2 separate regions of the Homo sapiens genome follow, and region 2 is linked to region 1. Evidence: promoter capture Hi-C in 16 types of primary human blood cells and fetal thymus (Javierre and others, 2016). All regions are on one chromosome and are shown on one strand. Each heading gives the region's core, a stretch centred on a gene start or on the middle of the fragment in contact. The rest is flanking DNA. Distances are from core to core; before and after follow the strand shown.

Region 1 (5,493 bases), core at 1,962-4,461:
CTTTAGGAAAGGTGTGACTTTTTGTGGTGAAATGGGAGGAGTACCTCCTGTACTACTGTCTCCACGTAAGCCTAGTAGGGGCAGAGATTTTTTTTTAAGAGAAACACCCATAAATGGGAGGCAGTTGGTATAGTGCAAGGGCATATGATTCTGTGCTCCACAAAAACTAGGTTCCTGGTTCATCGACAAGGATGTGTGGAGTTGTAAAGTTCATTTTGAAGGATAAATGTTAATTCTGGCATTTATTGACCATCCACTGCATGCAATATGCCTAACAGTTTGTAAATCCCAATATGAAAGAAAAAAATCTCATTCAACAATTGTAACACAAGTGAATGTATTGATTATTTAGTTTAGAAACAGGGTCTTGGCTTTGTTGCTCAGGCTGGTCTGGAACTCCGGGGCCCAAGTTATCTTCCTGCCTCAGCCTCCCAAGTAGCTGGGAATACAGGCGCGCGCTAACCTGACTATAAGTGGATGTATTTATTCTCAGAATATTTATTGAGTGCCCACTATGTGTCACACTGTTCTAGGGGCTGGAGATGCAGCAATAAAGGCAACAAAAGTTATTGTGCTTTTTGTTCATGATTCAGAGGTGCGGCTTACTTTTTAGTGAGGGAGGTTACAATCTAGTGAAATGGTGATTTGCAGCATGGGGGATTTTTAGAGTGCTTGATTTAGTTTCCTTTTTATTTAAAAATACATTGTTGCCATCACTTTTGCAAGTAGAGCAGTTCTTGTCAGTCTATTTGAGGATCCATCCAGTTGAGGCATTTAAAAACATCACAATGCCTTAGACTTGCAAGGGACCTTAGTTGTGATAATAGTTTTAACTCCTTTATTTTACATATGAAAAAAACTTAGCTGAGTTTACCCACTGCATTACTGAGAGGTTAAAGACTAGGCCTTAAATCTGGTTCTCTTGTATACGTGCCTCAATCATACTCCTCATGGTTCCTGGTTTCCGAATTTGGGTCTGAATCATGAGAAGCTACATTTGCAAAAAGTACAGATGGTACAACGAGTTTAGAGACTGCTATGTAAATGGAGTGATTTGGTTAATCAGAAAGAAGATGCGGTGAAAGACCAATAGGATACCTGAGCTCTAACCCTGGCCTGCTCATCAAAGAAAAACCATTTAACCTGGGCCCTAATTGCCTTGTCTTTAAAAAGAAGGGCTAGACTACGGATTTACAATGGCTCGACTTACGATTTTTCTACTTTACGATGGATTTATCGGTGTACCAAATGCATTTTCAATTTACAATATTTTCTATTTAAGGTGGATTTATCGGGAAGTATCCCCTTTCTAAATCGAAGAGCATCTGCAGTCGATGAGGCCATGTGCATAGTACTTTGAGTCCTTTAAAATATGCATCTATGCGCAGGGATTTACAAAGTGCCTGGCACATAGTGCTCAAAAAAATGTTATTTATTTATTTACTTAGAGGCGGAGTCTCGCTCTGTCGCCCAAGCTCGAGTGCAGTGGCACGATCTCGGCTCACAGCAACCTCTCACTCTCGGATTCCAGCGATTCTCCTACCTCAGCCTCCCGAGTAGCTGAGATTACAGGCGCCCGCCACCACAGCTGGCTAATTTTTGTATTTTTTAATAGAGATGGGGTTTCGCCACGTTGGCCAGGCTGGTCTTGTGAACTCCTGACCTCAGGTGATCCGCCCGCCTCGGCCTCCCAAAGTGCTGGGATTACATGCGTGAGCGACCGCAACCGGCCAAAAAATGTTATTATTAATCGCACAACAATCTCATATAGATGCAATTCAGAATATGAAAACGTTGAGAATTACAGAAATTAAGCAATACTTCCAAGGTCTATCAGCTAAGAAACAGGAGAAGCAGGCTGAGAATCCTGGGCTTCTGACTGTATTATTTCCTATGTAGTTTAGCTATAAAATTATTTTACATGAATTCGGACTTGATGTAAACCTAGAAAGATGGACAGAAACAGCACAGTTAAAGAGGGATATACTTTATGCAGAAGTAACCCATGTGCATGAAGGAAGGGTTCTGGTAAGGGAATGAATTTCATCTGCACTCTTTGTCAGGAGGCAGCTTTCCTTATGGGAGAGGGAGGCAGAGGTAGGGAAAATGTGTGAAGCCTTTGAATGCCAGGCTAAGGAGTGTGGGCAAGTCGTTAGTGGTTCTTTATCAGAGTGGTGGCATAGTATTAACAGCATTTTATTATTAATCTGGTTGTGGATTACTGAATACATTGGGGAGGTAGAAGTGGAGCTTCGGAGACCAGTTAGATGGCTGTTGCTGGAGTCTGGAGTATGAGGACCTTTAGTATGTTGACGTAGAGACCTGGGAAGGTGTTCTTTTGTTAGCAGACAGCGTTGAGGGGACATGCAAACTCCTTATATTTAAAAAGGACTTATGAGTATATAGGGGTTTCTTTCAAAAGCAGCTACTGCAGAGGCCTGAGAGGCCAAAAGGGCGCGTTTGGAATTAAAACAGAGTTAGACTCTTGGCTTTGTCATTTTCTAATTATATAGCCTAGAGGAAGTCACCTAATCTCTCTTGAGTCTTGATTTCAATTCCTCTAAGTTAGGGTTGACAATCCCTACTTGTTAGAGCATCTGTGTGCATAAACCAGACAGTGCTTTAAGGCATGTAGCAATGGCGCTGCGTGTTGGTTCCCGCCTTCCCCCCGGTATACTGCAGGCGGGGGCTGGGTAGCTAAGGACAGCGGAGGCCAGGAAAGTCGTTCTACCTGGAGATCCCGGGCTGGCACTTCTGTCCAGACCTGGACAGGCCTCCGAACGCCGGCCGGCCCTACCTTGGACCAGGCTTCGCACGGGATGACGGAGCATCCCCTGCCAGTCGGTGGGACAGACGTTTTCCTCCTCAGAGGGGCTCTGGAGCGCGAGGCAGTCCCCGGCAGCCGGGGGTACCAAGGGGGCAACGGGGGAACAGCGCGGAGAGGCGGCGCCGGCGCCCGAGGCAGCCGCGGCCACCGCGGCCACCCCCGCACCGCCCGCCGGCTAACTCGCCGCGGGTGCTGGGCCGCGCTGGCCGCGTTTGAAGTCTCCGGCGCGGCTGCTGGTTGGCCGGCGAGGGTCACGTGCGCCCAGGCAGGAGTTTCCCCGACAGCTGGAGGCTGCGTGGGATCCGGCGGCGGCTCCCGAGCGCGGCGGTGCGGCCTTCCCCGCCCCCTCCCTCCCTCCTCCCCCGCCCGCTTCCGCCCGGCTTATTATCCTCCTTATTGACAAACAGAGCGGTCGCGGCGGCGACTCTCGGCGTGCGGTGATAGCCAAGCCATGGGAGACAAGAAGAGCCCCACCAGGTAACAGCGCCCGGGCCCCGGGGCCCGGACTGTGCGGGCGGCAGGGCCCTCGTGCAGGGCTTCGGGTGGCCGCCTCGCTAGCCGCCCGGGCACCGGGGCGAGCACGGGGGCAGCGCCGCTGGTGTGCGAGTGCTGCCGCTTGAGGGGGCCGGCGCCGGCCGCCCCACAATGGAGCCGCGATGGCGGCGGCGACCGGAGCGGCCGCCCGGGTGTCAGAGCGGCTGTGGCGGCGGCGACTGCGGCCGCGCTCGCGCCCTGCCTCTTCCTGACTCCCTTCCCCCTCAGCCGGAGCGCGGCGCGCCGAGGGCCCGCGGGGCGGGGGTCGCAGAATTGGGGCGGGGGGCGGGGCGGGGGCGGCCGCGGGGCCCGGGCACCGGGCGCGGCCTGCTGGTGACCCCGCGCCGCGTCGTGTCCGGGTTGTGTCCTGCAGGCCGAAGCGGCAGCCGAAGCCGTCCTCGGATGAGGGTTACTGGGACTGTAGCGTCTGCACCTTCCGGAACAGCGCCGAGGCCTTCAAGTGCATGATGTGCGATGTGCGGAAGGGCACCTCCACCCGGTGAGTCCCGGGCCTGCCCCTCGCGCCGCCGGCCGGCGGGGTGGCGACCAGAGGACGCCCTTGCGGCTGCCGCCCCCTCCCATGACACTGGCGGACCCGGCGGGAGGAGGCAGACGGAGGTGGCTGTGGCGATAGGAACTGGGTCACATTGATCGCAACCCAGGCGATGGTTTGCGGTGAGGGGTAATTGAAGAGGCTGTAACGTTTTTTGCTGCCAAGAGAGAATAAATTATTTAAGGGAGGCATTAGCTACTGCGATTTAATTCGTATCGCTGGGTGTAATGCCCCTCTCCCCATTCTGGGTATAAAAATGTTGGCTGCATTGTTGTGTTAGTGTGTGGGGATCAAGGAAAACCCATAAAATCTCTTTAGGAGCAAAGGATGTAATTTAATTTCGTTCCTAAAGAAAGAAAAGTATCTGATTGCAGAATACACAATATATTAAAACTTATTTTTCTACATGTACTTCTGGAAGGGTCAGATCAAGGTTTTATTTAGTGTTTTTATTCCAGTACTCTAATATTTTATAAATAAGTAGTTGGAGATGAGCCCAGTCACAGGAACAGATTTTTACTGAAAGTACCTTTATATCTTTAGTTTGATTAAATGGCAGTCTCTTAGACAAATGAGATGAAAAGATCTCTGCCTATTTTCAGACTTTATTTATTGTAAGCTTGCAGTATAATAACTCTGTCTTTTAAAAAATGACTTTGAATTAAGTGAATAAAGAAAATCATCCAGGAAATTCAGTCAGTGGCATTCTTAATCTGTCAGCACTTAGTTATCGAGCTCCTTGATTCTTATACGAAGGTACCCTTTGAATTAAATATAATCCTGTGATTTATTACTTAATATTTAGAGAAGATATGTATTTTGATATTACAAAGTCCATTAGAAACTAAACTATAACAATAAGCATACTAATCTTACTGTTGCTTTAAAAAAGAAGGCACATGTAATATTGACATATACAAATATTCAGTAGACGTTAGATTTCTAAAAAATGAGATCTTGATTTTTTAAAAAACACTTTACAGAATTTTATTAAGTTTAAAATTTAGAGACAGGAATGGTTGACAGTAACTTATCTGAAAAATTTCTCAGTGAAGCTCGCTGGTTTTGACATGCTTGTTTTTTGTAAATCATCATATGCTTTTTGTATATTCCCACAATTGATAAAATATTTCGTACATTTTTCATATTCAAAAAGCAAACTTTCAAACGTATGCTAAATTTAAGGGATTACAACAGAACATTCCAAAAAGAAAAAAAGTATTTGCTAAAATGATTGTGGTTACTATTTTTGGACCCGTGATTTGTGATTTAAGTATTTTGAAAAGCAGAGTATCTTCTTGGCTGTGTAAGGTTGGAGTTGGTTTAGAGTATATTTGTGTATCTGTGTTAGTACTTTGTGCTTTTTAAAATGCTCAATAAGCAATTTTTAGAAAATTCGTTTTTTGGAGGCAGGAACATTAAAGTGGAAACAATTATAATCTTGATCTCTGGTACTATATATTATTGCTTTTTGTTGTTCCCTCTCTATTTTCTTGTAGCCATTAGAAAAATACTGAAACTAGAAGAGCCTATATGTTTATTTGCAGGGACAGCAAGGAAGGGGGGAAGCTGGTGTCCT
Region 2 (5,493 bases), core at 2,055-4,554, 970 kb after region 1:
ATGTGGAGCAGAGAGGATCTATTTCCTTCCTGCCTCCCCTGTCACTCCACTGAGCTCACTTCTTCTAAGTTTGTTATTCAGGCCACTGCAAAAATCCTGCCAACAACTTGGCCTCAAAATCACTTAATGGGAAAGAACTGAAAGATTGAATTTTTGGCAATGAAAACTATAAAATATTGGGACTTACATTCTAGTGGGTTAGTTCAAGTAAACTGATAAATAAATATACAACAAGTGGTAGTAAGCATTATGAAGAAAAATGAGCCAGTAAGAGAGTTATGATGGGGAAGAATGCTAATTTTATAAGGTGGTAAGACAGAGGCTATCTGAAATACGGACTTTTTATCAGAGACTTTAATTAAATGAGGAAATGAGCCACACAGTTCCCTGGGATAACTGTCGTTAGGCATATCCACTCTCCCTTCCAGAGTTGCTTCTGGCATCAGTTTGATCCCATGCCAGTCAAGCCTCTCAGCTTATTCATGAGTTAAAATGTTCAGCATCTTAGTCTAAAGCACTGATCCCTGTAGCATCTGGACTACATAGATGCATCAGGTGCCTAGTCCGACACTGACCCACCAATGAGCTCTTGGGCCTGAATCTACCTAATTATACTGTCAGCCAAAATTGTTCTGTCTATAATAATTCACTGGGAGACTTTGCAAATATTTGACTGATTTCAGAGCATTTTTTTCCTACCACATTTCCCTAATGGCGAGTCCAGTGATTCAGTAAACAGGAAGGGAATTAATCTTTAACTGTCTTCAGATATTTCAAGGGTGTATACTTCATGAACACACCAGGCAAAGTTTGAGCCAGGGAATGCTAGCTATGATAGATTTGGCAAAATATAAGAAAACTTTTCCTAATGGAATCATCTGAAGAAGAAGCAGGCTGTCTTGGGAGATCTGCTCTCCACCATGGATTCAGGTATTTCAGTAGTGTCTAGGGATACAAGAGGTAGAGATAATGTCAATGTTACATAGACTTTAGTTGGTATTTAAAAATGGCTTCTAATATCCCTGAGCATCTATGGTACTATATTTGCTTCCAAAATATTTTCTAATTCGGAACTTTCATTAATTCAGGCAATCCTTCTCTCTAGCTTAAACTAGGAAGTGTTCACTAAACATAGAAACAAGCTCAGCATTTTAAGCGTTTTCCATTTATAATGATCAACTCTATATATTCCTTCAAATTGCACCTTTGTGCCATATCTATTTAAATTTTGAAAGATTTATTATTTTAAATAATGCTTGGTATGAAAGAGGTTATATAGTCAAAGATTTTAACTACACAATACACAGAGTGGTTATTAATAAAACATATTTCTGTTCTGTTTTTTTAAAAACCCTGACATTTTCAAAAGGAAAATACCAGCTTTACACACACTCATTAGGATGACCTACTTTTTGACATGTGGCTACAATTTATTCTACCACTTATTGGTGAGGTAGTTATCCCAGTACAAAATGAAAAAAATATATAATGTCCTTACTTAAAAAGTTATATGAACTTAACTTAAATGCCATGTCCCACATAGAAGAAGGCAAGACCCCTTTTATGACAAAGTAAAGACAAAATGAACCCCATATTTCTATGGTTGCTGACCAAGCTTGCATTCAAGGACTTTAGATCTTGATGCATTAAGAAAAATGATAAATGATAATGGGATGACATTAAGGCATAATTGCTGAACTAGTTCTTTGGCATCTGCTGCCATGAAGGTAAATTTAATGATAAATAGCATACATTTGGTAATTTTCTACTATAATAAGACATGTTTGCAAATCAACCATAGTTTTTGCAGGTAAACCTGAAAACATATTTTATCAATTAAAAATAAGATTTTATGTTCAGTCATTTTTTAGGTATTATAAAAATTCCTAAAATTGCTAATTTCTGACTGAATATACTTTTTCTTTAATGAAACACTTCATTTATTGGTTTCTACATCATTTATAGAGTAGTGTCAAAACTTCCAAGCATACAAGTTCCTTACTAGCTTCACCCTTTATCACTTCCCCCATCTCTGGGAGATGCCCTATATGTAAGTTACAGTTAAGGCTACTTGTAGTTTCTATCACGCTATACTGTTTCATTCTCTGTCCTGAATTCACTGTTTCTTCTTTTCAGAATACATTTTTCTTCTTTAAGCGTCTGGGGAACTGCATTTTCAGATTTGGTTATAATGACTTTCATGACACTCTCCACAACCAGGTTTGATCATTCTTGCGCTTGCCAGCATACTGTCTTATGCAATCTTCCATTACTGTACTTATGAAACTGGATTATAACTTGCTTTCCTTCTATGTCTATTTCCTTCTTTAGGAACACTTTGGAAGAAGAAACTGAGCCTCTTTGATATTTCTATCCATAGTGCCTAACATTACTTTATTAAAATGTACATTTTTGAATGAATAAAATTGATCCAAATGGATAGTCAACACTTTATTCATTTTCCATACCCATGATTGCTTAAATTTAACATAAGCAGACTACTAAATGAAGCCCAGACAAGCTTAAGCAAAACAACAAGGAAATGCGCCTTTTAGGAACTGCCAAGACTATAGTTCTCATTGATTGCAGAATTCAATTTCCTCCTAAATATTTTGATTATTAGGACTTCAATGTGACTTCTGGAAATTCAGAGTTACAACCAACAGCATCTATTTTGCTGTTCTCCCACCTGGACAGCAACTTAACCAACTCATCCCATGGTCACTCTAAAGGCCTTTAATTGACAATTCGATGCCACAAAGGGGAAAGAAAACAAAGCACTTTCTAAGTAAATATGTTATTATAAAATAAAGATAGAAATGTTTTTCAAGCTTGGCAAATATTTTTATAACTTTTGAACTGCCGATAAAGTTTTAAATTTTTTTCTGGCAGTCTTGATACATGTGCTTTAAAAGTGTATCCATTTCTTACTAAAAGAGTCAATTATACTTACTAAACACACCAGTGCCTTTGCCTCCTGAGAAGTTAGAAATAACTGATAGTATAGGTATATATTTATTGAGGCAATTAAATCCGTGACCCTTAAAAGCAGTCTTAAGTAGCTGCAAAGATTTAATACTCATTTAATACAATAAATGGGCCATTATAGTAATGATGCTTTAAAATTAATAAGTCAAACAGGTCACTTTAGGATCAATATATTTGGTCTGTGAAGTATATTTCATACATATTCCATTTAAGAATATTTTATTTGAAGATCCTGATCTGTATGTCTCAACTGAGTTAGAAATTTTCATAACCAAAGAAAACAATATTTTTACCAGTTGACTTTAGGCTGATTCACCACATATCATTGGCACTTTGGCTTTAAAACCAGAAGAGGTTATTTATTTATGAATTTTATGTTCTTAAAGTAAATATTAGTGGAGGGAAAAAAGTAAGTAATTCATTGAATGGACATAGACAAAATCTTTGATTTTTATTGTTTATGTGAATTAAGGAAACAAGTTAAATTTTTTTTGCCATTCTTTCATTCCAAAAAAAAAAATACTCTATTTGGTAGAGAAAGGAATTGCTTTTTGAGATATTCTATATAGTAGAGGCTTATATAAACATAGAAATGATGTTGCAAAATCATTTGTTGTCTGTGCAGTATTGAAATATAAAGATCTTTTATGAGATCAAAATAATGAAAACAGGCCTGGCAGCATGTGTTTTATTTCCATATTTCAGATATTCCCTAATGATAACCACAAAGTCCTCTGAGGGGAGTGTATTTGTTTTCAATGCAATTGTAATAGAATGAAGGGAAGCTTTTGCTTACTAATGTGCTGCATTTCTAATAATTCTTTCCATCCACTTGCAAATGTGAATTGTCACCGCTGATTTATGTTCATTAATCAAAACGGCAAATGCATGTGGAGTGCAGAATCCGGGTCCAGGCTGTTGTGTGAAAAATGTGATCAATCATCACTGATTGGCATTTTGAGTTAAACTATACAAGAATGTGGAAGAACAGATGCTTGCTAGGAACAAGGGAAAGGAAGTTAGGGCCAGGAGGCTAGCATTTTAATTGGCAAGATTCAAGGTGGTTAAAACAGACTAGACCAAAAATTCTGAGTTTTGGAATAAGAGAAAATAATTATGCAAAACCCAGGGAAGAACGACTTTTCAAACTACCTTCATGTGAAAGATACCTTTAAAACAATGCTATAGATGCTTAAAAATGGTACCTGCAGTTGTGATTTAATAGGGCCATGAAAATAGGACTTGACCCATATTTTTTGTACCTAAGGGAAAGTAGCTAAGTGTAATGAGAATCAGCTATTCATAAAACAATAAACTTGGAAGATATTTAATGTATCCTGTCTCTATTTTGTGCTTTGTGTTGGAGGAGTGGATTTATTAAATTAGTTTTTTTAAAATCTCTAGATACAGTCATTCAAGAAAAAATAATAGCTATATTGTTTTAAGCTGATGAGATAAGAATATTTATATACATTGAGGTTTAGATAATATAAAACACAAAATGAAAAATAATATAAAAGCAAATTATATAAGTCAAGTAGAATTAGTCATATATGTGATGCTACGAAGACTATATTTCAGATTTAGAAAATAAAATTTCATTGTGTAAAAATTAAGTTTTGACATTTTAATAATCAACTTTACTATACTGTATTATTTTTAAACAAATTTTTCACTAAATCAGTTTAGGAAAGAGCACTTCTCATTAAAATATTACTTCCCCACTACATATACTGAGTTTTTAACACTCTCATGATGGTATACACACAATAATTATTTTGAGATTTCTACGTAACTAACAAATTAATAAAAGAATGAATAAATTTTGCATGTAATCTGCATCATTTCTTCCAACTGGCTGCATCTCTATCCTGTTAGGATATAAAAATATCAAGAAATAGTTACTACAAAAGTAAGTACATTTATTGTATGATTAATCAGTTAGTTTAAAATGGTGAATTCTGACTGCAGTGAAGATAAGATGGAATAAAGATTCCAATTTTGTATCTTCACTGAAAGCAAGTGGAAATTTTGAGAAAGCCAAAGTTCTATAAACATGATTTTTTTAAAGAAATAAGCCTTTTGTTACACAAGCCATCTATGCGTTTTATGACTTAGTTCCCCTTACTATTAAGTGATAGAATTCAATTTTCTCTAAATTCATTAATCTTTATTTCTATAAGTTGCTTAAATTATGGCCAGGTTACATGCATTAACAATCTAATTCTAAATACACACACACACACACACACAGACACACACACACACCACACACACAGACACACACACACACCACACACACAGACACACACACACACAATAGTTACGATCCAAAAATTATCCCAGATAATTGCAGAGTTAATTGAGTAAAATCTATTGTTACATCTATTAGCGCATTTAATTTATAACATGTGGTGATGGGAAAATAATTATCACTGCTTTAGAAATGAGTAACTGACTCAGCCATAGCTGTTAAATGGGCAAACGTGAAATTAAAGTCAAATC

Evidence for each region. The method cuts DNA at HindIII sites, captures the fragments that hold promoters and counts their contacts. A CHiCAGO score of 5 or more calls a contact.
Region 2: a fragment that was not itself captured here is called in contact with the fragment with the promoter of YAF2 in region 1 in 1 of 17 cell types (monocytes); the score reaches 6.8 in monocytes.

The regions. Positions count from the first base shown.
Region 1 is chr12:42,235,966-42,241,458 of GRCh38, reverse strand. It overlaps YAF2 (YY1 associated factor 2), which reads left to right and starts at 3,211. Exons shown (of 4, transcript NM_005748.6): 1 at 3,211-3,304; 2 at 3,735-3,860. The coding sequence starts at 3,279. LOC124902920 (a long non-coding RNA gene) reads right to left here and starts at 3,014. Exons shown (of 2, transcript XR_007063279.1): 1 at 2,732-3,014; 2 at 2,181-2,322. RefSeq lists silencers at 2,466-2,605, 2,796-3,035, 3,086-3,465, 3,566-3,635, 3,756-4,085 and an enhancer at 3,419-3,920. The HindIII fragment of the contact is 7,822 bases long and covers 1-4,535 here.
Region 2 is chr12:41,270,075-41,275,567 of GRCh38, reverse strand. The region is part of intron 3 of PDZRN4 (PDZ domain containing ring finger 4); the gene reads right to left. Among named protein-coding and RNA genes, the nearest start is that of PDZRN4, 85 kb to the right of the region's middle. The HindIII fragment of the contact is 942 bases long and covers 2,834-3,775 here.